5 separate regions of the Homo sapiens genome follow, and regions 2, 3, 4 and 5 are each linked to region 1. Evidence: promoter capture Hi-C in 16 types of primary human blood cells and fetal thymus (Javierre and others, 2016). All regions are on one chromosome and are shown on one strand. Each heading gives the region's core, a stretch centred on a gene start or on the middle of the fragment in contact. The rest is flanking DNA. Distances are from core to core; before and after follow the strand shown. Region 1 holds the start of RPL7L1 (ribosomal protein L7 like 1). Region 2 overlaps UBR2 (ubiquitin protein ligase E3 component n-recognin 2). Region 3 overlaps PTK7 (protein tyrosine kinase 7 (inactive)). Region 4 overlaps UBR2 (ubiquitin protein ligase E3 component n-recognin 2). Region 5 overlaps UBR2 (ubiquitin protein ligase E3 component n-recognin 2).

Evidence for each region. Contacts are between HindIII fragments. The CHiCAGO score rates a contact against its expected background, and 5 or more counts as called.
Region 2: a fragment that was not itself captured here is called in contact with the fragment with the promoter of RPL7L1 in region 1 in 1 of 17 cell types (megakaryocytes); the score reaches 5.5 in megakaryocytes.
Region 3: a contact is called between a fragment that was not itself captured here and the fragment with the promoter of RPL7L1 in region 1, in 1 of 17 cell types (naive CD8 T cells). The highest score is 5.7, in naive CD8 T cells.
Region 4: a fragment that was not itself captured here is called in contact with the fragment with the promoter of RPL7L1 in region 1 in 4 of 17 cell types (M2 macrophages, M0 macrophages, megakaryocytes and 1 more); the score reaches 8.6 in M2 macrophages.
Region 5: a fragment that was not itself captured here is called in contact with the fragment with the promoter of RPL7L1 in region 1 in 2 of 17 cell types (M0 macrophages and total CD8 T cells); the score reaches 6.0 in M0 macrophages.

Annotation. Positions count from the first base shown.
Region 1 is chr6:42,877,645-42,883,365 of GRCh38, forward strand. RPL7L1 (ribosomal protein L7 like 1) reads left to right here and starts at 1,972. Exons shown (of 6, transcript NM_001366481.3): 1 at 1,972-2,307; 2 at 3,217-3,322. The coding sequence starts at 2,267. RefSeq lists enhancers at 984-1,941, 1,684-2,153, 1,942-2,898, 2,174-2,233. The HindIII fragment of the contact is 10,267 bases long and covers 1-5,721 here.
Region 2 is chr6:42,569,935-42,575,610 of GRCh38, forward strand. UBR2 (ubiquitin protein ligase E3 component n-recognin 2) reads left to right here. Exons shown (of 47, transcript NM_001363705.2): 2 at 3,800-4,059. Among named protein-coding and RNA genes, the nearest start is that of UBR2, 8.7 kb to the left of the region's middle. RefSeq lists enhancers at 2,826-2,885, 2,976-3,025. The HindIII fragment of the contact is 744 bases long and covers 2,299-3,042 here.
Region 3 is chr6:43,144,097-43,150,344 of GRCh38, forward strand. PTK7 (protein tyrosine kinase 7 (inactive)) reads left to right here. Exons shown (of 20, transcript NM_002821.5): 15 at 355-510; 16 at 1,104-1,336; 17 at 2,522-2,602. Among named protein-coding and RNA genes, the nearest start is that of SRF, 24 kb to the right of the region's middle. The HindIII fragment of the contact is 1,549 bases long and covers 1,683-3,231 here.
Region 4 is chr6:42,615,114-42,620,639 of GRCh38, forward strand. UBR2 (ubiquitin protein ligase E3 component n-recognin 2) reads left to right here. Exons shown (of 47, transcript NM_001363705.2): 9 at 1-65; 10 at 889-977; 11 at 2,296-2,394. Among named protein-coding and RNA genes, the nearest start is that of UBR2, 54 kb to the left of the region's middle. The HindIII fragment of the contact is 5,430 bases long and covers 1-4,790 here.
Region 5 is chr6:42,592,431-42,598,409 of GRCh38, forward strand. It overlaps UBR2 (ubiquitin protein ligase E3 component n-recognin 2), which reads left to right. Exons shown (of 47, transcript NM_001363705.2): 4 at 1,761-1,874. Among named protein-coding and RNA genes, the nearest start is that of UBR2, 31 kb to the left of the region's middle. The HindIII fragment of the contact is 2,154 bases long and covers 1,210-3,363 here.

The DNA of each region.
Region 1 (5,721 bases), core at 722-3,221:
CCTTTTAATATTATTGGTACCACAGACTCTACCTTTTATCCATAGACAGGAAAAATCACAAAACATTTAACTTTTTGCTTTTTTGTTTACTATTTAGTGAATGTCTTACACTTTGGTGACCCTTGTGTTTAGCCTCTTTACAAAGACACATGGTGAGGTGCTGAAAGAGAATGAGCCTCCCTCTTTCAGTGTGTGACCTTGAATGCTGGGTTGTCCTGACACTTACTCATCAGAAAGTGACCTGTGCCCATGGCACTCTTTCCGGTTGGACTAGTTACATGGCAACACGAGGCCTTTAGCTGCCACCAGTATCAGTATCAATAGTGCCAAAATCGAGAAATTGGTGCTAGATCCTTAGGATCAGTGATGAGTAAGCAGTCATGGTTCCTGCCCCCCCTAGTATCATGTGGAAGAAATATTAAAAATATAATAATGTCCTGAGGGAAATCAGACACTACTCTAGAGTCTTACTAGTCAGCCCATAGACCAGTAGCACCAGCGTCACTCTGAAGCCTGTTAAAAATGCAGAATATTGGCCAGGTGCGGTGGCTCACGCCTGTAATCCCAGCACTTTGGGAGGCCGAGGCGGGCGGATCACGAGGTCAGGAGATCGAGACCATCCTGGCTAACAAGGTGAAATCTCTACTAAAAATTCAAAAAATTAGCCAGGCGTGGTGGCGGGCGCCTGTAGTCCCAGCTACTCGGGAGGCTGAGGCAGGAGAATGGCGTGAACCCGGGAGGCGGAGCTTGCAGTGAGCCAAGATCGCGCCACTGCACTCCAGCCTGGGCGACAGAGCGAGACGCCATCTCAAAAAAAAAAAAAAAAAAAAAGCAGAATATCAGCTCCCCACCCGGCCTCCTGAATAAAAATCTGTATTTTAGTAAAATCTTCAGGTGACTCCTATTCACTATTAATGCTTGAGAAGCGCTGCTCTGGAGGTTTCCAGAGATGATAAGACTTGTGTTGTTTTTCAGGATTTTTAATTTTAAAAAAAATTTATTTCTTGTTTTTTTTGAGACTGTCTCGCTCTGTCGCCCAGGCTGGAGTGCAAGTGGCACAAACTCGGCTCACGCAGCCTCCGCCTTCTGGGACTTCAGGCGCGAGCCACCACGCCCAGCTAATTTTTTGTATTTTTAGTAGAGACGGGGTTTCACCATCTTAGCCATGCTGGTCTCCAACTCCTGACCTCAAGTGATCCACCTGCCTTGGCCTCCCAAAGTGCTGGGATTACAGGTGAAAGCCACCGGCCCGACCTACTGTTTTTCAGGATTCTATATAGACTGGGAGGGAAGAACGCAAATTCCGGGCGATGAGAGCTGCATAAGGGTTTTATTTTTATTCTTTTTTTTTCTTTTCTTTTCTTTTTGTTTTTTTGAGACGGAGTCTTGCTCTGTCGCCCAGGCTGGTGGGCAGTGGCGCGATCTCGGCTCACTGTAACCTCCGCCCAAGACGGGGTTTCGCCGTGTTGGCCAGGCTGATCTCGAACTCCTGACCTCAGGTGATCCTCCCGTCTCGGCCTCCCTCCCAAAGTGCTGGGATTACAGGCGTGAGCCACCGCGCCCGGCCTGTGTAACGGTTTTAGACGGGAAGGAAGCATGTTGTAGTTTTCGGTCCAGCAGTAATAGTAACAAACATAGTGCTGACAGACACTGCTAAACGCTTTATCTAATCTCCTGTAATCCTCGTAACGCCATTAGGTAGACCTATTATTACTGTACACCCATTTTATGGGTAATGAAGCCGCAGTATAGAGGGGTTAAATAACGTGTTCAAGGACGCATCGACGGGGCCAAGCAGACGGAATTGCAGCTACCTGCTTTACCACTCTAAGTCCTCAACAAACACTTCCACCTACACGTGAGAGCCAAAGCCATAGCCTCCAAGTTTTTCCACAGAGCGAAAATGTTTCGCGGAGTTTGCCTGTCTTCCTCCCCAGAGACGCAGCACAGCCGCGCCGGAAGTGCGGCGCCGTAGCTAGGAGCGGACGCCATAGGTGCATTGTGGGAAGCACTTTGCTGTCCACAGCCAGGCCGCTTGTGATGAAACTGTAACTTACAAGAAAAGGGCTGGGTTTTGAAAATAACACAGGCTCTAAAAACCCTAAGAAGCGGTGCAACTTTTGGCAGGAATCGGGGTTAGCGGGACCTCAAGGGCTCACTGCGGCTAAGTGAACGCTGACTGGTCCTCCAGCGTGAGCTAGAACAGACGTCTCTATGGTCAAGTAAACAGAGCGTGTGCTGTCTTCCCCATGTGGTGGGGTTGCGCATGATCAGTAGCTGCACCACTAGAAAGATGGCGGAGCAAGAGTGAGTGTTTGGGGCTTTGAATATCTGGAGTGGGGTCTTGAGTATCCGGTGCCATCCACGGTGTTTATGCCTTGGTGGCGGATTCCTGTGGGCTCTAGGAATAGAAAAGGCCACAGTTTACAAAGGGTGGGGGTGAGGAGGAGTAGCGCTGTGGCGGAGGAGGGAGGGGACCGCGGTCAAGTTCGGGTTATCTGGAGAGGCGAGGATTGACTTCAGGCAGCGGGCTGGAGTGCCACAGTTGAATTCACCCAGCCCGACAAGTGTTAACTCTGCAGATAGGCCTGCCCCCGCCCCAACCCCATAGATTCGTCGCTGCTAGTGCCTATGAAGAACTGTGGCCGTGAAAACCCTGTTAACTTATACGAACCCAGAGGCTAAAGGATTCATTATTTTCCGAGGCTTTGGGGATGAGTGACTATTAGGGATGGATTTATGAGGCCTGGAGTCAGAAACCGCAGGTTTCAGGGGAATCTTTCTTCAGATACTTGAAAACAGTAATGTTCCCTAAAGCCCAGGATATTGAATTGGTTTGGAAATCCATTGAATGTTCGTTTTCTTTTTTGTTGTTGTTTTTGTTTTGAGACGGAGTCTTGCTCTGTCCCCCAGGCTGGAGCGCAGTGTCGGGATCTCGGCTCGGTGCAACCTCCGCCTCCCGGGTTCAAGCGATTCTCCTGCCTCAGTCTCCCGAGTAGCTGGGATTACAGGCGTGCGCCACCACGCCCAGCTGATTTTTTATTTTTAGTAGAAACGGGGGTTTCACCATGTTGGTCAGGCTGGTCTCGAACTCCTGACCTCAGGTAATCCACCCACCTCGGCCTCCCAGAGTGCTGGGATTACAGGCTTGAGCCACCGAGCCCGGCCAAGTGTTCTTTTCTAAATGTTATCTCTGATCTCAATTTTCTGCATCAGGCAAAGAAAAATCCCTTTGGTTCCAGAAAATCTCCTGAAAAAGAGGAAGGCTTATCAAGCCCTCAAAGCCACCCAGGCAAAGCAGGCACTTTTGGCAAAGAAGGAGGTAATGGTGGGGAACCAAGAGAAAGTAATTAGAATTTTTATTTGGTGAGTTTTATCCCGCATGTGTTGGACTACATTTGGTATTGACGAGCTCCCCCCAACGGTTTGACAGACCAGGTATAGTTGTCTCTCAGTGTCCTTAAGGGGTTGGTTCCAGGACTCCCACAGATGCCTAAATCTCAGACTGCTGAAGTCCCTTATATAAAATGGTTGTAGTAGGCCGGGCGCGGTGGCTCACGCCTGTAATCCCTGCACTTTGGGAGGCCGAGGCGGGCGTATCACGAGGTCAGGAGATCGAGACCATCCTGGCTAACACGGTGAAACCCCGTCTCTACTAAAAATATAAAAAATTAGCCGGGCATGGTGGCAGGCTCCTGTAGTCCCAGCTACTCGGGAGGCCGAGGCAGGAGAATGGCGTGAACTCGGGAGGTGGAGGTTGCAGTGAGCCAAGTTCGTGCCACTGTACTCCAGCCTGGGCGACAGAGCGAGACACTCTCTCAAAAAATAAATAAATAAATAAATAACTGGTTGTAGTATTTGCATATAATCTATACTCCTTCCGCCTATGTAGTTTAAATCCTCTCTGGATTGCTTAATAGCTTTATTTATTTATTTATTTATTTTGAGGCAAGAGTCTCACTCTTGCCTAGAGTGGAGTGCAGTGGCACAATCTCGACTCACTGCAACCTCTGCCTACTGGGCTCAAGCAATTCTCGTGCCTCAGCCAACCAAGTAGCTAGGATTACAAGCATGCGCCACCACACCTGGCTAATTTTTTTTTTAACTTAATTTAATTTTGTTTTGTTTTTTGAGACAGAGACTCACTCTGTCACCCAGGCTGGAGTGCAGTGATGCGATCTTGGCTTACCACAACCTCCGCCGCCTCCCGGGTTCAAGCGATTCTCCTGCCTCAGCCTCCCAAGTAGCTGGGATTACAAGGATGTGCCACCATGCCCTGCTAATTTTTGTATTTTTAGTAGAGACCGGGTTTCACCATGTTGGCCAGGCTGGTGTCCAACTCATGGACTCAAGTGATCTGCCCACCTCGGCCTCCCAAAGTGCTGCGATTACTGATGTCAGCCACCCCACCCGGCCACCGGCTGATTTTTGTATTTTTAGTAGAGATGTTTTGACATGTTGGCCATGCTGGTCTCAAACTCCCGGCCTCAAGTGATCACCCACCGGCCTTCCAAAGTGCTGGGATTACAGGCCTGAGCCACCCTGCCTGGCCTGGATTACTGATAGCTAATACAGTGTACATAATGTATTTTAAAAATTTGTATTACTTTTTACGGTTATTTTTCATTTTTTCCCCTGAATTTTTTTTTTTTTTTTTTTTTAAGAGTGAGGTCAGCTGGGCTCACATCTGTAATCCCAACACTTTGGGAGGCTGAGGCGGGCAGATTACTTGAGGTCAGGAGTTCAAGACCAGCCTGGCCAACATGGTGAAACCCCATCTCTACTAAAAATACAAAAAATTAGACGGGCACTGTGGCATGCGCCTGTAATCCTAGCTAATCAGGGGGCTGAGGCAGGAGAATTGCTTGAACCCGAGAGGCGGAGGTTGCAGTGAGCTGAGATTGTGCCACTGCACTCCAGCCTGAGTGACAGAGCAAAACCCTGTCTCAAAAAAAAAAAAAAAAAAATAAGTGGGGTCTTTGGCCAGGTGTGGTAGCTCATGCCTGTTATCCCAGCACTTTGGGAGGCTGAGGCAGGTGGATCTCCTGAAGTCAGGAGTTTGAGACCAAGCTGGCCAACAAGGTGACCCTGTCTCTACTAAAAATACAAAAATTAGCCGGGTGTGGTGGCGCATGCCTGTAATCCCAGCTACTTGGGAGGCTGAGGCAGGAAAATGGCTTGAACTCAGGTGGCAGAGGTTGCAGTGAGCCGAGATCATATCACTGCACTCCAGCCTGGGCGACAGAGCGAGACCCCATCTCAGAAAAAAAAAAGAACAAGGAGTGAGGTCTTGTGTTACCCAGGCTAGAGTGCAGTGGCAGGATCATAGCTCATTGCAGCCTTGAATTCCTGGGTTCAAGAGAACCTCCCGCCTCAGCCTCCTAAGTAGCTGGGACTACAGGGTGAGCTACTGTATGTGCTCCTCCAAAGTATTTTCCATCTGGGGTTGGTTGAATCACAGATGCAGAGCACCAAGTGTATATGGTTTATGTCTTCATTTAGCAAATATTTAACACCTGCAGGCAAATGCTGGCGTGGAGTTTAAGGAAACTTGTTAGTAAACACTGATTAATATGTAAACTAATTTTTTGTTCGTTATTTTTCCCAATAATTCCCAAGTTTCCTCAACTCCACCTTTACTTTGGTTTCTCATTTTTCCTTTATATGAAAATAGAGAATGTTGCTTTGCTTCGCATTGTGGAACACGGGGAAATAAGCTAT
Region 2 (5,676 bases), core at 1,421-3,920, 310 kb before region 1:
TATTACTCTCTTATGCCACATGGGTGTGACAGCTACAAGTGTCTGAAATAAAGACAAAAGGCCAACCAAACTGGAAATCTTAATTTTTCATGTTGAAGAAACAGTTGCAGTTAGCATATGTTAGAACTAATATGAAAAGCTATAGATTTTATTCTTTGGGGAAATGTGTGAGCTACTTCTGAAAGACAGTCATAAATTTTTCTTGCTTTTTATATTAAGTATGTATGTTTAATCAGCTTAAAGTGCCTGTAATAGAGCCCAAATCTTTTAGGTGATTGTGATTTTTTCATATAATGGTAGTAAAGTTTTTGGTTTTGAGACGGAGTCTCACTCTGTCCTCCAGGCTGGAGTACAGTGGCGTGATCTAGGCTCACTGCAACCTCCACCTCCTGAGGTCAAGCGATTCTTTTGCCTCAGCCTCCCAAGTAGCTGGGATTACAGGCGTGCACCACCACTCCTGGCTAATTTTTGTATTTTTAGTAGAGATGGGGTTTCACCATGTTGGCCATGGTGGTCTCGAACTCCTGGCCTCAAGTGATCTGCCCACCTTGGCCTCCCAAAGTGCTGGGATTATAGGCGTGAGCCACTGTGCCCAGGAGTAGTAAAGATTTGAAAAATGGGGAGCATATGCATGCCTTTCTTGGACCAGACTTTTAAGTCTTGTTATTTATAATAATATGTAATAAAGAGTGAAATACTTGCTTGTTTTACTAATAATATTTTTATGTAAAGTGGCTAGTTTTTTTTTTGTTGTTTGTTTGTTTTTTGAGACAGGATCTCACTCTGTCACCCAGGCTGAAGTGCAGTGGCGTGATCATGCCTCACTGAAGCCTCAACCTCCGGGGCTCAGGTGATCCTCCCACCTCAGCCTCCTGAGTAGCTGGGACTACAGGCATGCACCACCATGCCCAGCTAATCTTCTTTTATTTTTAGAAGAGACAGGGTTTTGCCATATTGCCCAAGCTAGACTCGAACCTCTGAACTCAAATGAGCCACCCGCCTTGGCCTCCCAAGTGCTGGGATTACAGGCATGAGCCAAAGAGCCTGGCCGATTTTTTTTTTTTTTCTTAACCAGAAGCTGATACTAGCGTCTGAATTTTTGTTGAAGAAATCTATGAACAAATTTGCTCTCGTTACAGTTACTAGACTGCATAATTTTTTTTTAGAAAGCATCCATGCTAGCCTGTAGTCCCAGCTACTTGGGAGGCTGAGGCAGGAGAATGGCGTGAACCTGGGAGGCGGAGCTTTCAGTGAGCCGAGATCGCGCCACTGCACTCCAGCCTGGGTGACAGAGCAAGACTCCGTCTCAAAAAAAAAAAAAAAAAAAAAAAAGCATCCCTTCTAAAGTAACCTTTCATTCTTGTATTAAAATTTTGCAACAGTGAAGTTTTACAGGAATGGGAACATAAAATATAAGGAAAAAAACTGGTTTTTAAATAAAATCTTTCAATATGTTGTAAAAAAAAGTCCGAAGCACTTAACTTTCTAGGATCATGGAGGTGAATTATTTTGGTCTTATTGCTTAATTTTTCTTTCATAAAGAGTAAATTGAATCCTAGCACCTTTGGGAGGCCGAGGTGGGCAGATCACCTGATGTCAGGAGTTTGAGACAAGCCTGGTCAACATAGTGAAACCTTGTCTCTACTAAAAATACAAAAATTAGCCGCGTGTGGTGGTGCACACCTGTAACCCCAGCTACTCAGGAGGCTGAGGCAGGAGAATCACTTGAACCTGGGAGGCAGAGGTTGCAGTGAGCCGAGATCGTACCACTGCACTCCAGCCTGGGCGACAGCACGAGACTCAAAAAAAAAAAAAAAAAAAAGCGCTTAGGATCATTTGACTACCTTCATTCTTGTTTTGGTTTGCTGACAATGGGTGAAAAATGAGACATTTACCTTTGAATGAGGCCAAAACGAGGTCTTTTAGCTCAAAGAATAAGATTCTAGTATGCTTGTTGAGGACTCTTTTTCTTTTTTTAAAACTTGTCCTCTTTATAATTACTGAGCTTAAAGGATGTGTATGTATATATAAAATTTTGATTGAGTCACTCTGAAGGGAGAGAATACTTAAAGCCTGTAGGATTGTCTCCTAAGAAATGATGCTGCTGCTGCTGTTTTATTTTTATTTTTATTTTTTTTTCCCTAACCACTTGGCCACCAGGGAAGAAATGCTGTTGTTTTGAAAGTAATTTAGTCTCTTTCCTACTTGCATAATGTAAACACAACAATGTTAGTAATATTTGGAAAATAGTTTAGTTTCACTTTAAGCATGAAAACTCTTTCACCGTTTTTGGTTATAAGCTTCTATCCAGTCCCTTAACTTATGAACAAAATTTTTACATTTTTAGTAAAAGTTCTCTGAAAACAGAAATTGACTAGAAAGTTAATATACATCACCTCATGCATATTTAAAATCTCTCTGTATGTTGTTTTTAGAAGGAGTGGTCTGAAGAATATACAAGTAATAGCTAAAATGAAGACCTTATGTTGACTTCTTATGATGTTACATATCACTTGAACATACTTTTTTTTTTTTTTTAAATAAAAATGTAACTGGAATTAGGTAGTAATCCATAGGTAAACATTGGAGGTTTTTTTTAATTTCAGCTTTTACTTTAGATTTAAGGAATACATGTGCAGGTTTGTTACATGAGTATATTGCACCTGGGTAGTGAGCATAGTACCCAATAGGTAGTTTTTCAACTCACTTCCCCTTCCTCTTTCCCTCCATCTGTGGGTTTTGTTCACGGTTCAGTTAACTGCATTCTAGCAGAAGTGAGTCTTTTTTTTTTTTTGTCCTTTGAGACAGACTCTTGCTCTGTCGCCCAGGCTGGATCTTGGCTCACTACAACCTCTGCCTCCTGGGTTTAAGCGATTTCTCCTGCCTCAGCCTCTTGAGTAACTGTGATTACAGGCATGCGCCACCACATCCAGCTAATTTTTATATTTTTAGTAGAGAAGAGACTTCACCATGTTGGCCAGGCTGGTCTTGAACTCCTGACCTCAGGTGATCTGCTTGGCCTGGCCTCCCAAAGTGCTGGGAAGCTTTTCAGATTTTTCGGTGTGGATACCCAGGTTGAGCTGGAAATGGAGAAAATAACAGATTTTGGTGGAGCATGGAGGGGAGATCATGCATTCAGTTATTGAGTTGGTACCTATGAGATCTAAGTAGAATCATGCTTTAAAATTTGTTTTTAGTGGGGAGAGCAAACGGAAAAGGCCTTATAGAGAGAGAGAAGTTGATCAGAGAAAGAAGGCATAATTGGTACAACAGTCTCTTGTGGACTGACTTATTCAATAAGAGACTGGTATATAAACTTGCTTATCAATCATTAAGAAATGTGTATTGGCTGTTCATGTTCACCGTACATATTGGCTGTTCATATTCACCGTACACTCTTCCTATGGACAAACTGACGTGAGAATTGATATCACAATGAGAATAACATTTGAGCAAAGCATTAGGAAGGACATTAGGTGAGCTCAATGGTTCATATCTTATATAATGATTTCTTGTAATTATTTTCTGGTACTGCCTAGAGAAGATTGCTTCAAGAGTCATTTTGCAGGGAAGGAGGGAGGCTTGTTTCATTTTAATTTTACTTACACTTAAAAGTAGGATTTAAACATACTTGGCATTTTAATAGATTAAATTTCTAACGTACGGTGGTGAGTGTTGTAAACAAAATATTTTAATATGCTTTTGTCATTATTTTTGTACCTAAAAGAAAGTAGGGTGAATTTGTTCAAATTAGTTTGTTGGTGTTTAAAACCATTTCTTCTCTTTTCTTCTTTTAAAGAAATGGCTGCAAGCAACTGACCTCACTAGAGAAGTGTACCAGCATTTAGCCCACTATGTACCCAAAATCTACTGCAGGGGTCCCAACCCTTTTCCACAGAAAGAAGACATGCTGGCACAGCATGTTTTGTTGGGACCAATGGAATGGTACCTTTGTGGTGAAGATCCTGCATTTGGATTTCCAAAACTTGAGCAAGCAAACAAACCTTCTCATCTTTGTGGTCGTGTTTTTAAAGTAGGAGAGCCTACATATTCTTGCAGGTAAAATATTTTAATTTTCTTTCTAGGAGGCTCTTGTTTTATTTGACCTCTTTTTTTCCCTGGAACTTTTGAGTTTTTGTTTAAAAATTATGAAATACCATATCTGCTTAAAAATCTGTATTACAAATACATGCTATTTAATAAATAATTAAAGCAAACATTTTTGTAATTATTCTTGATCAAAAAAAATTGTCACCAGCATTCTTGAAGCCCACTGTGTGCTTTCTTCCTTCCCCCATAATTAACTGACATCTTGACTCTTGCAATAATCACTTTCTTGCTTTTCTTGATATTTTTTAGTTACAGTAATTCTGATGTTCAAATTGCCATAGATTTGGCTAGTGAGAGCCCCGTCACACCATCTTGTCTTTTTCACATGCCTTCATTAGTTTGTGGGTGCTTCTTTCCTTTCTGGCACAAGATGCCCCAGCTCACTTTGTACTTGCTCTGACCCGTATGTACAATCAGCTATTTCTTTAAAGATTTTTCTTTCATTTGGGAATGGTAGTTAGAAACCAAGATCTGGGTGCTGTATGCATTTACTGCTGTTAGGAAGACTTTTCTTTTTTAAATTTCTTGGTGAAAATTGAGTATACAAGGGTAGAAGATGGAGAATAAAGTGCCTTGTCCCCTTTTTGACTGTCCAATTTTCCAGAATTAATCATTGTTAACATTTTCCCATATATCATTTCAGAAATTTTCCTTTTTTTTTTTTTTTCTGAGATGGAGTCTTGCCCTGTCACCCAGGCTGGAGTGCAGTGGCGCGATCTCGGCTCACTGCAACCTCCACCTGCCAGGTTCAAGTGATCCTTCTGCCTCAGCCTCCCAACTGGCTGGGATTACAGGCTTAGCCCATGACCATGCCCAGTTAATTTTTGTATTTTTAATAGAGACGGGGTTTCACCATGTTGGCCAGGCTGGTCTCAAACTCCTGACCTCAGATGATCCACCTGCCTTGGCCTCCCAAAGTGCTGGATTACAGGCATGAGCCACTGTACCCGGCCTCTTTCAGAAATTTTCTTTGTGTATATAGGCCAAGATATATGGCAATTTTAAACCTACATACATAAATACAGATGGGAATATGTTACATATACTGAGCTAAATTTTCTTTTCTGTATTTAACCATAGCTTAACATCTTTCCGTATCAGCTTATGTAGCTAGATAATATTCTTTTGTGTAGATGTGTTGTCAGAGACATTATTTAACTTTTTCCTTTAAACTTTTTCCTGTAAAACTGAAATTTAATAAGCTAATTTTGGTGAAAGCCTCTGGTTATCTATGGTAGTTTTCTTTATTAGCTTATTTAGAATATCAATAGAGAACAGTATATATATTGAAAAACTATTAGACCTAGTTTTTTGTTTGCTATTACAGAAACTACTTTGAATATTCTGTTGATGTTTGGAGCAGTAGACCTAGTTGAACCTCATAATTTATGGATAGGAAATTGAGACCCCATTGTTCAGTAATGTTCTTTGTATTAATAGGATCTAGTTCCAAATTATTTGTATATCTTGTCTTTTAATCTTCAATCTGGAATGTTTCCTCAATTTTTCTGTGACTTTCATGATCTTGACACTTTTGAAGATTACAGACCAGTTATTTTGTCAATG
Region 3 (6,248 bases), core at 1,207-3,706, 270 kb after region 1:
TTCCCTTTGTGCCTGTTTAGGGCTTTGCCCAATAGGAGGCCCCATGAAAGCAAAAATCCTTATGTGTAGCTATGGTATTAAGGACCAGTGATTCAGATTAGATGTCTGCAGTTGGCTTCATCTCAGAGGTCATAATCAGCTGCATCACTAAGGGGTCATACCCTAGGGGATAGCCATACATCCCCCACCCAGCCCCAGCCCCATTATTTCATCATTTGGGCTTGCCCTTTCATGTGGAGCACTGTGATTGGACCCAAGTTGGCAAGAGTGGAAGACCAGGGGACAGAACAGAAATCCCCATGGTGGCCAGAGTGTCAGGTCTCATCGTGACGCTCTTGTCCTCCTCCTTCCCAGGTGGGCCTTTGCAGAACGGGCAGCCCTCAGCAGAGATCCAAGAAGAAGTGGCCTTGACCAGCTTGGGCTCCGGCCCCGCGGCCACCAACAAACGCCACAGCACAAGTGATAAGATGCACTTCCCACGGTCTAGCCTGCAGCCCATCACCACGCTGGGTATGTTGCCTTGACTACAGCTGCCCCTGCCTAACTACAAGTCACCCGCTGTGTCTTGAGGCTGGGTACGGGCTAGTGTTCTGAAGTCCCTGAAACCTAGAATGTTAGAGGTGGAGGGAAGCATAGGTAGAGATCTAGCCCAGTGTGGCCCCAGAGCCTGTTATTCACTGCCCTTCGTGCAGATTTTGTCATTCCTGTGTACTACCTGTAGTATTATTTACTTGATGTTTTATTTAAATTGACTCTTTAAAAAAAAAAACTAAGTTACCATTGTTCTAGGAAAAAATATGAGAAATCATGGGTTTGTCATAGTTACGTTTTTTCCTAGCATACGTTAAGACATGTTTACCATGAGCCACCAAAAATTCTCATGCGAGTCACCCTTTGGAAAATGCTGAATATTAGTCCCACCCTTTTATTTTGTTGCTGCAGACACTGAAGCCTAAGGAGGGAGGGGGTCACAGCAGAACCGGGTCTCGTGCCCAGCCCAGGTGGGTGGGTCCCCACTGTGGGAGAGGCTAGGCCCCTCCCCCAGGTCAGGAGCTGCCTCGGCCTGGGTGAAGGTGGCTGGCTGACTCAGACTGTACCCACAGGGAAGAGTGAGTTTGGGGAGGTGTTCCTGGCAAAGGCTCAGGGCTTGGAGGAGGGAGTGGCAGAGACCCTGGTACTTGTGAAGAGCCTGCAGAGCAAGGATGAGCAGCAGCAGCTGGACTTCCGGAGGGAGTTGGAGATGTTTGGGAAGCTGAACCACGCCAACGTGGTGCGGCTCCTGGGGCTGTGCCGGGAGGCTGAGCCCCACTACATGGTGCTGGAATATGTGGATCTGGTATGCTGTTGGCAGGGGACGTGGGGGTCTCGGGTAGGGAGGGCAGTGTCCTACAAAGGTGGGAGTCAGTGGTTGGAGCACCGTGAAAACCTTGTCTCGTGCAGTCTCAGCCGAGACCTCACCTGCCTGCTGTTACACTTTGCCCACCTTATGATGCTCAGCTTCTGCCTTCCCTGCTCTTGGATGCCTGCTTTCCCTTTATCAGCACCCAGTCTTTCCATCTGTATCTCAGGGGCGTTGGTCCTAAGTTTTTCTGGGACTTCTCACTGTCACACTGCAGGGATGCCTTCCAGGTCATCTTCTCTGACTCTTGTTTTCTTTGGTTTGTTATTTTTTCCTCCCCAAAAGCTTGTCCCCACTTGAGAATAAATATATCAGAACCCACTTTGCCTCCCTCCTTCCTAGCACCACTTGTGACATGAGTGTTACCCCAGCCACCAGCCTTCTCCTCTCCACTCAGGGTGTCATTCCCAGAGCTGCGCCTTCCTCTTCATTCCCCAGCTGGTCCTTGCCCTCACCCCATGGTCCTCAAACTGCTGCTTCTCAAATCCCTAGTTCTGGGGCAAGAGCGGGCAGGAGTCCTATCAGTCTTTCCATTAACAAGTACTTACGCGGCTGGGCACAGTGGCTCACACTTGTAATCCCAGCACTTTGGGAGACTGAGGCAGGAGGATCGCCTGAGGCCAGGAGTCCGAGACCAGCCTGGGCAACATAGCAAGACTCTGTCTCTACAAAAAAATTAAAAACAAACAAACAAGTACTTATGAATGCTTTATGTATGTTTCTGCTGCTGGCGTTCTCCTTTGTTTGTTTAGATTAGATTGTAAAGCTCTGGAGGACAGGGGTTTCCTCTCAGGAATCTTTGAGGGCAGAGGGTAGGGGACTGTTTTCCTCTTGGCTCACTGAAGATGGGGGCTCTGTTGCCCCACCTGTCTGGAGGTTCCCCTTGGGGTAGAAATGCCAATTCTCCTCCTTTCTAACTGAGACAGCCTCTAGGAGGCGTCTCCTATATATTTTTAAAGTTCTGCACTCCCAGTGAACTTCCCCCTGGGAAAGGGGCCCAGGCTAGCTTAGGCCTTCTCACTGCCTCCCCAGGCAGGAATTCTGCGAGCACCTGCTTGGTCTGAGGCTTTACAGCCAATGGCTGTGCACTGACCTGAGCGAGATGCCTGGCTTTTCCCTTAGGGAGACCTCAAGCAGTTCCTGAGGATTTCCAAGAGCAAGGATGAAAAATTGAAGTCACAGCCCCTCAGCACCAAGCAGAAGGTGAGGACAGGGAGTGAAGGAGGGAGGGAGAGGGTGCCCAGGGGTGGGCCAGGAGCAACAGAGGCACCATTTATTGAGGGCTCTCTATGGGCCAGGCCCTATGGTAAGAACTTCACATGTGTTACTGTAATTATCACGGTAGTCGTCTGAAATATATACTACTATCCCCATTTTGTGGATGAAGACATTGAGGCTTAGGAGGTTGTCTGACCTGTCCCAGGTCATGTAGCCTGGAAGTGGCTTTGCATTGCCATGCTGGCTTCACGGAGAAGAGCTACCCTCGGACCTTGCCTCTGGGCAGGAGCTTGCATTGGAGCAGGACGCCTGCCCACCTGCAATGAGCTCTGAGCTGGAGAAGCAGCAAGCAGTCCTAGTGCAGGGGCCTGCTGGGCTAGCTGTGGGCCTGAGCGTGTTTCTTCAGCTCTGAGTGGAGAAGACTCTTCTGTGAATGGGCTGCCTGGGTTTCCCCCTCTGTGGTTTGCATCTTGTCCTCTCCCTTGGGCTGTAGCTGCCCAGCCTTTCATTCCAGTTTTCCTCCTGCCTTTTGCGCAGAGGTTGTTCTGGGCACAGAGCCCTGGCTGGGGCCCCTGTGGTAGAGCAGACCTTGGTTGAAACAGTGAAGAAGGGAAAGCTTGCCTGCTACCCCCTGCCACCTCAGTCCATACCTTTCCAGTGCCTGGGGCTTGCTGTGGCCCGGCCCCTTCTTCCTTCCCTCAGGTTCTTCTTGCCCACAGCTGCCTCCTCTCCCCTCTGAAATGGATCTACTTCCTTCCATGTGACTGGAGAGTCTGCTTCCAAGCTGGCAGTGAAGTGACCTCATAAACCAAATCAGAGCTCAGGGCAGGGTAGGCAGAAGGCTCTGCCCTTTCTCCCAGGGGACCATTCCTTGCCTGCTAGGCTGTCCCAGGTCACAGACTCTGGAGGCAGAGCAGAAAGGCATGGCTGGCAGATGAATCAGGTGAATGGGACCCTGGCTGCCCCCAATCTCTCTGGGGAAGCAGCTCTGTGCCCTTCAGGCTGGCCCCCTCTTATTACATGTGAATTTACTAAGACCCAGACAGGACAAGTGACCTGGCCACCTGACACCACACCCCTACCTCCTTCCCCATGAAACTGCAGGAACTGTGTATAGTGGCTGTAGAGGAGAAGCCACAGGATGGGACTTGCTACACCAGCTAAGTGAGATTTCAGGACTAAAGAGCTCACAAATTAGGACACTCACAGAGCCAGTGACTCCTCACTGAGCCAGGTGTGGCCCCAGGGGCCCTTGGGAATGCAAAATTAAAACAGACAGGCATCAGCTAGGTGCGGTGGGAGGCTAAGGCAGGAGGATTGCTTCAGCTCAGGAGTTTGAGACCAGCCTGGGCAACATAGTAAGACCCTGTCTCTACAAAAAATAAAAAAAAGTTAACCGGGCGTGGGGGCATGCCTGTAGTCCCAGCTACTTGTGAGGCTGAGGAGGAAGAATCATTGGAGCCCAGGAGGTCGAGGCTGCGGTGAGCCATGATTACACCACTGCACTCCAGCCTGGGCAACAGAGCACGATCCTGTCTCAAAGGGAGGGGAGGGGGGGAAAGGACAGGCATCTTGCCCTTGGGGCACTTATGATCTAGTGAGGAGATTAGGTACATGAGTATGACCTGTGCCTTACAGACTTGAGGTAAAACAGAAAGCAAGTGGGAGGCATTAAGAGATGTTGAAGACACCCATGTCCTGTAGGTGGACAGATGGTTGTGGTTAACAAAGAAGTCTTCCTAGTAGAGAAAACCATTTGAGTTTAGTTCACAAGGACAGGATGTAGTTGAATGGCAGAAAGGGGATGGCTTCAAGAGTCAGGGGAGTCAAGGTGGGATTCTCTGGCTGGGATGAGACATAGGCTGACAGGAAGTCAGTTACCTTTCTCATGTGACCTAAGGGACTCTATTTGACTGCAAGTCATCACCATCTTTGCTAAATATCTTTTTCACACTTTTTTGCCATAGTGTCTTAAATATGATGGGGGAACTTTAATAAGTTGGGTTCTACACTCTCCAAGGACCATACTCTGCGTTACATAGAGAGGATGCTTTTAAAAAAAACAGGCAGGGCTCAGTGGCTCACACCTGTAATCCCAGCACTTTGGGAGGCCGAGGCGGGCAGATCACGAGGTCAGGAGTACGAGACCAGCCTGGCCAACATGGTGAAACCCCGTCTCTACTAAAAATACAAAAATTAGCCAGGTGTGGTGGTAGGTGCCTGTAATCCAAGCTACTCGGGAGGCTGAGGCAGGAGAATCACTTGAACCCGGGAGATGGAGGTTGCAGTGAGCCAAGATCGTGCCATTGCACTCCAGCCTGGGAGACAAGAGCAAGACTTTGTCTCAAAAAAAAAAAAAAAAAAAAAAGAAATGCAGGCCAGGCACAGTGGCTCATACCTGAAATCCCAGCACTTCGGGAGGCTGAGGCGGGAAGATCACTTGAGGCCAGGAGTTTGAGACCAGCCTGGCCAACGTGGGGAAACCCCATCTCTACTAAAAATACAAAAAGTACCTGGGCATGGTGTCACGTGCATATAATTCCAGCTACTCGGGAGGCTGAGGCAGGAGAATCGCTTGAGCCTGGGAGGCAGAGGTTGCAGTGAGCTGAGATCTTGCCACTGCACTCCAGCCTGGGCAACAGGAGTCAAACCCTGTCTCAAAAGAAAAAAAAAAGATTTCTGGACCATGACTCAGAATGAGGGAATTAGAGTATTTGAGAGTGAGGTCTAAAGATGTGAATTTTTCAAACAAGCTCTCCAGCTGATTCCTAAGCTCATTAAAGTTCAAGGAGCCCTGGTGGAGACTAGTAGCTTTGAAATGCTTTTTGATTATAATCCCTTTTAGGAAATGCATTTTAAGCTGGTGCAGCAGTATGTGCCTGTAATCCCAGCTACTTGGAAGGCTGAGGCCAGAGGATCCCTTGGGCCCAGGAGTGAGGCCAGCCTGAGTGACATAGCAAGACCTGCATCACTTAGCAACAACAAAAAAGAAATGCATTTTACTCATGATCTGGTGTGCAGGCTCATATAACTAAAATTAAACTTTCACAATGTTGTGTTTGATGCACTTGATGTTTTCTATCCTGTCCTCTTTTTATTTATTTTTATTTTTTGTAGAAATGGGGGTCTCGCCATGTTGTCCAGGCTGGTCTTGAACTTAAGTATTCTAGGGAGGTGGAGTGGTAGGCAGGGTGTTCCCTGGCCAGCTAGAGTTGGCACCAAAGTGCCATATTGGGTGTGAGTGGGCTGAGGGGAGCCTCAGGAGGATTTTAAGAGAGCAGTGAGTTAGTGACAGAAATCAAAGACATGGGTCCTGGGTGTTGGCATAATGGTAGGTAATGCCTTTTAGAGTAGCTGATAAGATGATATCAGAGAGCTGTAATCTGTGATTGCTTCATGGATCACTTGTGAACTAATGATGTGATGAGAAGCAGGATCAGCTTAGCACACCTGGTGGACCATGCTTTATGCAGTCAGATGCCGTGGCAGGAAACAGAAGGCCTCTTGTGAGATCTCATAGCATCACAGTGGGTTAGCCAGAACATGGGCAAACCCCTGGGGTGTTAAAATTGGAAAGGAAGGAGTGGGTCTGATCTTTACCAAAGAACGGGTCTTTTATAACAGTATTTGA
Region 4 (5,526 bases), core at 826-3,325, 260 kb before region 1:
GCCAGATGGTGAAAACTCTTCTCTAGTGGACAGACTGATGCTTAGTGATTCCAAATTATGGAAAGGTGAATCTCTTAACTACTTTTAAGGTGTAGAGGAACCTATATAAGTAATTGGGATGTGAAAGGTTTTTATCATTTGGGAAGATATTTAATACATATATTTGTGCTTCTTAAAATTAGCATTGCAGTCTTAGTCTTTGAAAAATATAGATTTGGTGGGGTGGGGTCCATGATCCAACTTAAATGGACTTTATATTTTGTTACAGAATTATGTTTAGAAAACTTGGTTTTATAAACAAATTGCAAATATTTTGTGCTAAGGAAAATATGTATTTTGCTCCTTTTTTGAAGGGACAGGATCTCACTCTGTTGCCCAGGCAACAGGAGTGCAGTGGCATGATCATTGATCACTGCAGCCTCCAACTCTTGGACTCAAGCAATCCTCCCTTCTCAGCCTCCCTAGTAGCTGGGACTACATGTACATACCACCATGTATGGCTTTCTTTGTTTTTGAGACTTAAAATACAAGCCAGTCTCAGTGGTGTGTGCCTGTAGTCTCAGCTACACAGGAGGCTGAGGCAAGAGGATCACTTGAGCTAGGAGTTTGAGTTCAGCCTGGGCAACAAAGCAAGACCCTAAAAAAAAAAAAAAATGCTGTGTTGGCTGGGCATGGTGGTTCACATTTGTAATGCCAGCACTGTGGGAGGCCAAGGCAGGAGGATCGCGTGAGCCCAGGAGTTAAGACCAGCCTGGGCAACACAGCAAGACACTGTCTCAAAAGTAAAAACAAAACAAAACAAAAAAAACCCACTGTGGATCACATAACACTTGAGAAATGTAATTGTTGGGCGTGTCCTTATCTTATACCGTGATCTTTTTCTACAAGGTGCTAGGAGTGTATATCATCAGTTGTTCATGAGCAGTCTGCTTATGGATTTGAAATACAAGAAACTATTTGCTGTTCGATTTGCAAAAGTAAGTGGCTTTTCAATTTTGAAAATAGGTTATATATAGAGTAACTATGCCCATAATTATATCTAGGCTTCAAAAAATTAACATCTAATAGTAATATGTCAATGTGTTGATATTAAATTCTAAGAAACTTCATAAATAATCTTTTCATTCTTTATCAATAGAATAAAATTTTAGCCGTGAGACTCCTTGTTCATCACCTCCTATAACATGAGTATCTATTATACAATGTTTATGAAATAATAAATGAAGAGTTTAAACCTATGCCATTGTGAATTATGGTATTTTTTTCTATTAAAATTCATATAAGGAAACTAATCTCAGTTTAAATGACATATATATGAATATGATTTAATAAATATATTTGTGCATTTTAAAATTAGCATTGCAGTCTTAGTCTTTAAAAAAAAATAGATTTTTTTTTGGAGGGGGGGCATGATCCAAATTAAATAGCCTGTATATTTTGTTAGAAAATTATATTTAGAAAACTTTGATTTTATAAATAGATTGCAAATATTTCATGCTAAGGAAAACATGTATTTTGCTTTTTTTTTTTTTAAGAAACAAGGTCTCTTCAGAACTCTAGGTTATTAATATAGTTAAGTTCTCCCTTTTAGCAGCATGTGCATAAGCTAACCACTTATTTTTTTGCATTCACCTGAATTACGAAGTATATGAGAATCACTTGGAGAGCTCTTTCAAAATACATGTGTTGTGTTCCATTCTCAAATCTACTGAAACAGATTCACCAAGAATGGCGGCCCAAGCATGTATGCTTTGGAAGAGTCATCAGATGATTCTGATATGATGCAGAAGTAATGAAAGTCTGATTTCATCAGAAACAGTGTAATGCTGCTGTGGTTTAGCTCCACCAGCATACAATGACATCTTGGGAGCTTAGTAGCTGTTACTGCCTATTTGGGCTGGTAAACTGCCATTGTGCTCCAGAAGAAAGAATCGATATTTATACAGGATTCCACAGTTTCCATAGTGAATCAATATCTATACAGGATTCTATTGGTAGAAATCATTCCAGTTATTGTTCTCATAGCAGTGTTATCTTCTTGACTTCCTCCAGCACTGACTTTTCATTATAATCCTTAAACATTTGGTCATTGTGGATTAGAGGTGAATCTCCCCCTTGTTGTTTAGAATTACCAGCAGTTGCAGAGAGATTTTATGGAGGATGATCACGAGCGAGCAGTGTCGGTGACTGCTCTATCTGTCCAGTTCTTCACCGCACCTACTCTGGTGAGTAGTGCTTGCCTTTTCTTTGTAACTGATAGCTGGCACTCCTTGCCTTTTTTTGCCTTCTTAATAGAACTATGAGCGTTTGCAGAGTGATTATGTGACAGATGACCACGACAGAGAGTTTTCAGTCGCAGACCTCTCGGTTCAGATATTCACGGTTCCTTCACTTGTAAGTACTGAAAGACTAGAAGAACTTTCTTGTTTTCCATTAACAGAGGCCTTAAAATAATAGAGAACTAAAGTCTGTATATTCCTGAAAAGAATAGTATTTTATTAATGGGTAATCAGACTTCAAACACCTTCACTATTCTTTTACTAGAATATAACCTTGAATATCAAAGTCATCTGGTAGGGGGGAAGTCATTTAAACTTAATTTATACTTTCTCTTCAGAGTAAAGGAGAGGGAAACAATCTACAATTTTTCATAGTACTTCCCTGAGATTTTGAACTGATTAGTTCACATTAAGCCGATTGATTTCACAAATTATCCTTCACGTTAGAATTAGACAGCATATTGTACACCGTCTCACAATTTGAGAAGTCCTCCTCCCACCTCCCTCCCAAAAGGGGAGATGTAGCTAAGGCAATTGAATCCTGATGATTGGATGGTCTTTTACTGAGCTTCACGAGTTGCCCATAAAGGCATCGTTATGTTTTAACGCTATATACATAATTAAAATTCATATTTAATTTGTTCAGCAAATTTAAGAAACACCTATTTATTGGGCACAGTTCTAGACTTTGAGAATGTAACAGTAAACAATAACAAATGTGACCCTTCCCTCATCAAACTTACCATAGTGGGAAAGACTCACATAAATAATCAGAATCACAATGAAAATTCCGTTGGTTTGAGAGAAAATAACAAGAGACCTGTCCTTTTCCCACACTTCAGGGCTTTTCTAAGAAAGGTGCCTTTATGCAAGGGCATGAGGGAAGGTCCATACAAAGGAATGAGCAGTTGAGAAAACCTGGAGGAGTAGGGTGGAGCATTACCTCTTGGCAAATAGAGGAAAACCAGGACACTTGAAGATCCTTGAACCTGGAGTGAAATTGTATAGGTTTAAGAGCATTTTATAGTTACTTTATTAATAAGGCATATTAAAAATAACTGAATTTTTCACCATATTACTTTTATGTTAAAGGATATATTCTAATACAGTGGAAGCTGACTGGAGTCTGTTTACCCATTAATGAGCTAGTATGATAGGCCAAATTAAGGATTTTTGCATTTTGTCTTAAAAACATGAGAAGGCATTAAAGAATTTTAAGTGGTATTTACATAATTACATTTGTGATTTTAAAAGATCATGCTGTCTGTAATTTGGAGAACAAATTGGACGAGGATAAAAGTGAGTGTGGGAAACCTAATCAGATGCTAAAGCAATGACCCAGGGAAAAATTGATGGTAACTCGAACTGGGATGCTGAAAGTGGATATGAATCATGGGGGATATTTTTAGGTGGTGAAATCTACAGAACCGGCCAAGTGGGTTTGAGGGTTGTTGGACTTGCTGACGAACTGGATGTCGGGTTTGAAGAAGCATAAGGATGATTCGCAAGCATCTGGCTTGCAGCTGAGTAGATGCTGTGCCACTTGCTGAATGATTAGCATTTGTAAAGAGGGAAAGTGATGCTTTTAGTTTAGTCAGGGTTGAGTTCCAGAAGCCTCTGAGATGATCCTGTGTGTATTCATATCTGTGCTTCCCTCCTTCATTGAACCATTTCCATGCCAGTACCACAGTTGTAATAATTATTTATAGCTTAATATCCCATTTTGACATCTTAAATCCCATTTCATTTGATAGCTTAAATCTCCTTTCATTATTATTTTCCAAAATGTTTTCGCTTATTCTTAGGCCTTTTTCAAAAAGATGAAGTAAAATCAGATTGTCAGTTACCAAAAACCACATTAGAATTTTGACTGAAAAGACCTTATATTTGTAGATTAATTTAGGAAGCACTAACATCTTTGCAATATTGAATATCCCAACTAGGAATATAATTTGTCCTTGTTTATTCAAATGTTATTTTATGTTCTTAGTAAAAACTTCATAGTTCTCTCGTTATGAACATATATATATATATATATATATATATATATATATATATATATTTTTTTTTTTTAGTTCTCTATCTCTGCTGGGCGCAGTGGCTCACCTCTGTAATCCTAGCCAAGGCAGGTGGATCACCTGAGCTTAGGAGTCTGAGACCAGCCTGGCCAACATGGTGAAACCCCATCTCTACTAAAAATAGAAAAATTAGCCAGGCGTGGTGGCGCACGCCTGAGGCTGAGGCAGAAGAATCACTTGAACCCAAGAGGCGGAGGTTGCAGTGAGCTGAGATCAAGCCATTGCACTCCAGCCTGGGCGACAGAGCGAGATTCGGTATCCAAAAAAAAAAAGTTCTTGCTCTGTCACTCAGGCTGGAGTGAGGTGGCACGATCACAGCTCACTGCAGCTTTGACCACCTGGGCTTAGGCAATCCTCCTGTCTCAGCCTCCCAAGTAGCTGGGACCACAGATGCATGCCACCACACCCAGCTAGTCTTAACATTTTTAAATTAAGCTTATATGGTTTATATTTTTGATGCTGTAGTAAACTTTTTATATTTTTGATGCTGTAGTAAACTTTTTATATTTTTAAACAGGCTATGGTAGTATTTAGGAAAACTACTGATTTTTATATGTCCATCTTATATCTGTCTGGTCTATCTGGATATGTATGTATTCAGATTAAATAGGTTCTACCAGACTCTTTTCCATAATGGTTAAACCAATTCATGCTTCTGTTAATAACGTATGAAAGTGATAGTTGCTCCACATCCTCACCAACACTTGGTTTTACCAGTCTTTTAAGATTTTATCTATTCTAGTGGGACATAGTGGTTTCTCATTATGGTTTTAATTTGCATTCTTCTGATGATGATGAAGCTGAATTCCTTTTTATATGTTTATTGGCATTTGGATATACTCCTTTGTGAATCCCTGTTAAAGTTGTCCTTTGATTATCTATTGAGTTGTCTGCCTTTTTCTTACTGATTTGTCAGAGTTTTTCATAGATTCTGCATACATATTCTTTGTTGGGTATATATACTACAAATATTTTTTCCACTCTTGTTTACTTCCTGAATATTAAGTGTTGTTTTTTTTTTTTGTTTTTGTTTTTGTTTTTTTTTAAGACAGAGTCTCACTGTCCCCCAGGCTGGAGTGCAGTGGCATGATCTCGGGTCAGTGCAACCTCAGCCTCCTGAGTAGCTGGGACTACATGCGTGCCCAGCTAAGTTTTTGTATTTATAATAG
Region 5 (5,979 bases), core at 1,037-3,536, 280 kb before region 1:
AAAAGATAATAGAGATATCAGCTCTTCTGTATTGGTTTTCAACTAGTTTGTTTTTGCTATTTTTTAATGTTTATTAAAGAGGCATCTACTACAATGTAGGAGAGGACCCAACTCCAGCACCTACGACCCACCAGTTTAGTATTTTTTCACTGCTGTAATGCTGTCAGTACTTTTCAAAATTCAGGTATGTTTGTTTGCTTTTAAGTCAGGGACACAGATAAATACAGATTATTCCAAATCCTGTCCTGGTTCCTCTATTGGAAATTGAAGACAGACCATGGAGATTCAAAGGGTAGGGTTGTTAGATGGAACTTTTCACCCTAATCATAAAACAGAATGGTAGAGAGGAATATTTTAATATTATTCTTAATTCAGGAGCCCATCTGGGTCAGAACTTTTCCTCCTGTTTGTTTTTATTTACTCTACCCAGGAGTTCATAATAATGAACTAAAACAGCTACGGGGCCGGGCGCAGTGGCTAATGCCTGTAATTCCAGCACTTTGGGAGGCCAAGGCAGGCGGATCACGAGGTCAGGAGATCAACACCATCCTGGCTAACAATGGTGAAACCCCATCTCTACTAAAAATGCAAAAATTAGCCAGACATGGTGGCGCATGTCTGTAATCCCAGCTGCTCGGGAGGCTGAGGCAGGAGAATCACTTAAACCTGGGAGGCGGAGGTTGCAGTGAGCTGAGATCACACCACTGCACTCCAGCCTGGGCGACAGAGCGAGACTCCATCCCAAAATAAAAAATAAAAATAATAAAAACCCAGCTACAAAATTGGGCTACTTATATTCTTGTCTGTTCATTAGTCTCATAAATCAGTAAAAGAGGCCCAGTTTCCTTTAAGCTGTTCTGCCTGTGTTTGGTAACTGAAACAAGCACGTGTCATTTTCCAAATGACTCCTACCCACATTTCTTGGCATATATCTTTGCATTCCCTGGGAATAGTTGTCATTTATAGGGTTACATTAATTATATTGTGATATATAACACAAATACTTACTTTGGGCAGAATATAATAGGGCTTATTCTAAAATTTGCTGTATCTAATACCTGTTAGTAAGCTCTTCCTCATACTATTTTAAGAAAAGCAGAATTTCTAGTCTACCAATTATTAATTCTGGTTCTGTGATGCCAGATTTCTTAAATCATTGCCCTGTCTTAAGGAATTATGAATAATTCCTGAACATTGCAGGTGGTGAAAAGCTTTTATTAGGCAGTCTACTTTTGCATTTCCTGAGCCCCTATTACTTGTCCTTTCAAAGAGTGGCTATTTAAGGTGTATTAGAGAAGAAAAATTAACTATTTCTATAGTCTTTGTTGGTTAATTTCTCCAAAGCAAATGCAGCACCCTTAGACTCTAGGAGACAGCAACTAGAGGAATCTGTATAACCCCTGAGTCTATTGTGTTTATAGCATCACAACCTGTAGCGTAGATATCAGCATTATACCAATTTAACCAAAACCCAGCAAGAAAACCCTTGTGATCCTCATGATTTTCCTAATTAAGGAAGTCATGTAGGCAAACATTACAAAGTAGCTTATTTTATTTTGAAATCACTTAGATTAGCTTATAGGCTTATTTAAAATAAACTTTAAAACATTGAGAGGTTTGGCATTTTATCTAATTTTATGCCTCCAAAGAAATTAAACACTTAAGCAATGGTATTTCCTTAGCACTTGATATTCTTATTTATTATCTGATAGCCCTCAGTAAATATTTATTGACAAGATACTTTACAATTTTTTTCCAAGATGACAACATCAGGAGGTGGAGGTTTCTGTGACTGTGGTGATACTGAAGCCTGGAAAGAGGGTCCTTACTGTCAAAAACATGAACTTAACACCTCTGAAATTGAGGAAGAAGAGGTAAAAACATTTTCACAAAGTTGTTTTTAACCCAAGTTTGAAATATTTTGAGAAATAGTCATTAGATGATGTGAGAAATGGATAAGCAAATAGTACTTCCACTATTGACAGTGACTAGTTTACTTTGAAAGTTCTTTGCATTTTGTGGATGCTGTACGGTTGCTAATAGTACACAGTTGAAATTTGGGAAATTTCATTTAATTCTGATTTTTTATTTGGTTGGGGTTTTGTTTTAAGCATACTTGAAGTTTATTTGAGTACTAACCTATGGTTGAGAGGATTATTTTTCCCATATGTGTAGACCAGTTAACCAAGTTGAGTTTTGTATATCTTTATTATAACAAAGACTTTTGGGGCCAGATAGCTTTCTTTTCTGTTACCATACATGACAGCCAATCCCAATCATCATCTCCTGGTTTCCATTATCATTGGTTATGTGATGGGACCATGTGTAGTGATGATAGCTCAGTACAAATAATTCCCACTGCTTACTGTGTTTTTCAAATTGTTGATCCTGCATTATTTTTCTTAAATGGATTTGTAATGGAATAGTAGAGTCCCACAAAATAAATGCTTAAATCTCTGCTGCTTTTTTTAAAACTTCAAAAACTTTCCATATATTTCTAATAACTCACTTAACTGTAATTATACAATGATTAAATCTTTCAATGGTATGCTACAATAGATTATGTTTTATTATTTTTAATTGACAATAATTGTACATATTTATGGGGTACAGCGTGATATTTATGGGGCACAGTGTGATATTTTGATACATATATACAATGTGTAATGAGCAAATCAGGGTAATTAACATATCCATCACCTCAAGCATTTAACATTATTTGGTTTTGGAAACCTTCACCATCCGCTCTTCTAGCTATTTGAAAATATACAGTAAATTGTTAATTATAGTCATGCTATAGTGCTGTAGAACATTAGAACTCATTCTTTCTATCTAGCTTTGTTCTTGTATCCGTTAGCCAACCTGTGGCAGTCCCTCTTCTGCTACATTTTATGACAATTTGTTGTATAGTTCAAGATCCTTCTTTCAGATTTTATTTTTAAATGGCAGGGGAATAGGTACACTCAAGTACGTCTACATTGTTAGTAGGCCTGATATAGATTTGGGGCAAGTGGACATCAATAGTCCTTCCTCAGCCAGGCAAGGTGGCTCATACCTATAATACCAATACTTTGGGAAGCCAAGGCGGGTGGATCACTTTAACCCAGGAGTTTGAGACCAGCCTGGGCAAATGGCAAAACCCCATCCCTACAAAAAATACAAAAATTAGTTGGGTGTTGTGGCACGTGCCTGTGGTCCCAGCCACTTGGGTTGGGGGTGCTGAAGTGGGATCCGCTTGAGCCATAGGAGGCAGAGGTTGCAGCAAGCCAAGATCATGACCCTGTCTTTAAAAAAAAAAAAAAAAAAGTTCTTCCTGGTACCCATATCCTACAGGTCTCAAATATATTTTATCAGAATGACCAAAGCTTTTGATGTACAAATCAAAATTTATACAAAATGATTCAGTGCTATGGAAAACATGTTTTGTTTTTCATTTGCTTTGTGAAAGGGTTCTGTAATTTGCTACAGTAAGATGCCAAGTGGTCAAGGTTCCAGATTTTTCCACTTCTATTGGAGAAGCTCCATTTTTATATAGTTGATTGGGGTTCTGTATGTAGAAATACAGGACAAATAAAGATATATTTGAAAAAAAAGAATTGTGCTTTAGAAAAAGGTTAAAAACCACTGGTATAAAACTTTAGGACTGCAGGAGAAAGTATATGTGTGTATATCCAAGCCATGTATCCAAAAAGGATCTAGTATGCAGAGTTTATATCTTACAACTCAGCAAGTAAAAAGATAACCCAATTTAAAAATGGGCAAAAGACTTGAATAGACATTTTTACAGAGAAGATATATGAATAATCAACAAACACATGAAAAGATGCTGAACATCATTAGTCATTAGGGAAATGCAAAATCAAAACCACAGTGAGATACTGCTTCACCCTCAGTAAGATGACTATTAAAGTAATAACAAGTATTGACAAGGATATAGAGAAATTAGAACCCTTGTATATTGCTAGTGGAAATATAAAATGATTCAGTGCTGTGGAAAACAGTTTGGCTGTTCCTCAAAATATTAAACATTACCGTATATTTCACACCTAGATATATACCCAAAAGAACTGAAAACCGAAGTTGAGCAAGTACATGCACACACATGTTGTAGCAATGTTGTTCACAATAGTCAAAAGGTAGAAACAGCCCAAATGTCCATCAGTGAATGAATGGATAAACAAATTGTGATAATATACATACAATGGAATATTTTTCGTCCATAAAAAGGAATGAAGAACTGATACATGCTACAACATGCATGAACCTCTAAAACATATTAAGTGAAAGACGCTAGACTCAAAAGGTCACATATTGTATGATTCCTTTTATATGAAATATTCAGAATAGGTAAATCTGTAGAGAGAAAAAACAGATTGGTAGTTGCCAGGGGCTGGGGAAGAGGAAAATGGAGAGAAATGGCTTAGTAGGTAAGGGGTTTTACTTTGGAGTGATGGAAATGTTTTGGAACTAGATTGTAGTAGTTGCACGTTATAATAAATGTACCAAGTACCACTGAGTTGTTCACTTTAAAATGGTTAATTTTATGTTCTGTAAATGTCATGTCATTTATTTGGAAAAGATACTTTAGGACTTCTGTTACCTTTTTTATCCCTGTGTTAGAGTAGACTTAAAATAATTTTCTAATGAAAAGTTTTGAATCTGCCTACATTTGCTCTGTTGGCTTTATCCTCATACATTAGTGGGATGGCTATCCAACAGTCCAAGCTCTACTTAATTTCCTGAATTTTAAGAAGACACCAGCAAGCTCCCCTGCCTAGCCAAAAGTCATACAATCCTGCCTGGAGAATGTATACTCCTGGAACTAGACAAAGAATAAAGCCTTCCAAACTCTACCATTTAATTTATATTTAAGAGTTTAATTAAGGCCAGGCGCGGTGACTCATGCTGTAATCCCAGCCCTATGGGAGGTCGAGGTGGGCAGATCACTTGACCCCAGGAGTTCAAGACAAGCCTGGGCAACATGGCAAATCCCCGTCTATACAAAAATTACAAAAATTAGCCAGGTATGGTGGCGTGCACCTGTAGTCCCGGCTATTCAGGAGGCTGAGGTAAGGGGATCACCAAAGCCAGGGGAGATTGAGGATGCAGTGAGCCATGATTGTACCACTGCCCTCCAGCCTTGGGCGACAGAGTGAGACTCTGTCTCCAAAAAAAAAAAAAAGTTTAAGAGAAATGAAGTCAGCCAGGCGTGGTGGCTGACACCTGTAATCCCAGCACTTTGGGAGGCTGAGGCAGGCAGATCACCTGAGGTCAGGAGTTCGAGACCAGCTTGGTCTCGAACATGGAGAAACCCCGTCTCTACTAAAAATACAAAATTAGCCGGGCGTGGTGGCACATGCCTGTAATCCCAGCTACTTGGGAGGCTGAGGCAAGAGAATCGCTTGAACCCGAGAGGCAGAAGTTGTGGTGAGCCAAGATTGCGCCATTGCACTCCAGCCTGGACAAGAACGAAACTCCATCTCAAAAACCAAAAAAAAAAAGAGAAATGAAGTCTTCAAGGGTATTAAGATAGCATTTTGTTTAACATACCTGTTCCCAGTAACTGTTGAACATAATTTTTTTGTCATACATTTAGCCTACATCTTCCGAAAAAGCTGGGGGAAACCTGGTGATATAGAAATGCTATGCAGGAGTTCCACAGGTCTTCTCATCTCTTTGCATTTGGGGGTGAGATATTTCTTCATTGTATAGGACAGGGTTCAGCAAGCTCTGACTCCTACAAGCCAAATCTTGTCCACAACCTGTTCTTGTGTCTGTTTTTAAATAGTTGAAAAAAATCAACAGAATTGTATTTTGTGACATGAGAAAATTATATGAAATCCAAATTTTAGTGTCCATAAATAAAATGTTATTGAAGCACAGTCATGCTTAAATTTTAACGTAGTATTTGTAGTTGTTTTCCCATTACAAACAAAATTGAGTAGTTGCAGCAGAGACCCTATAGCCTGCTAAGACTAA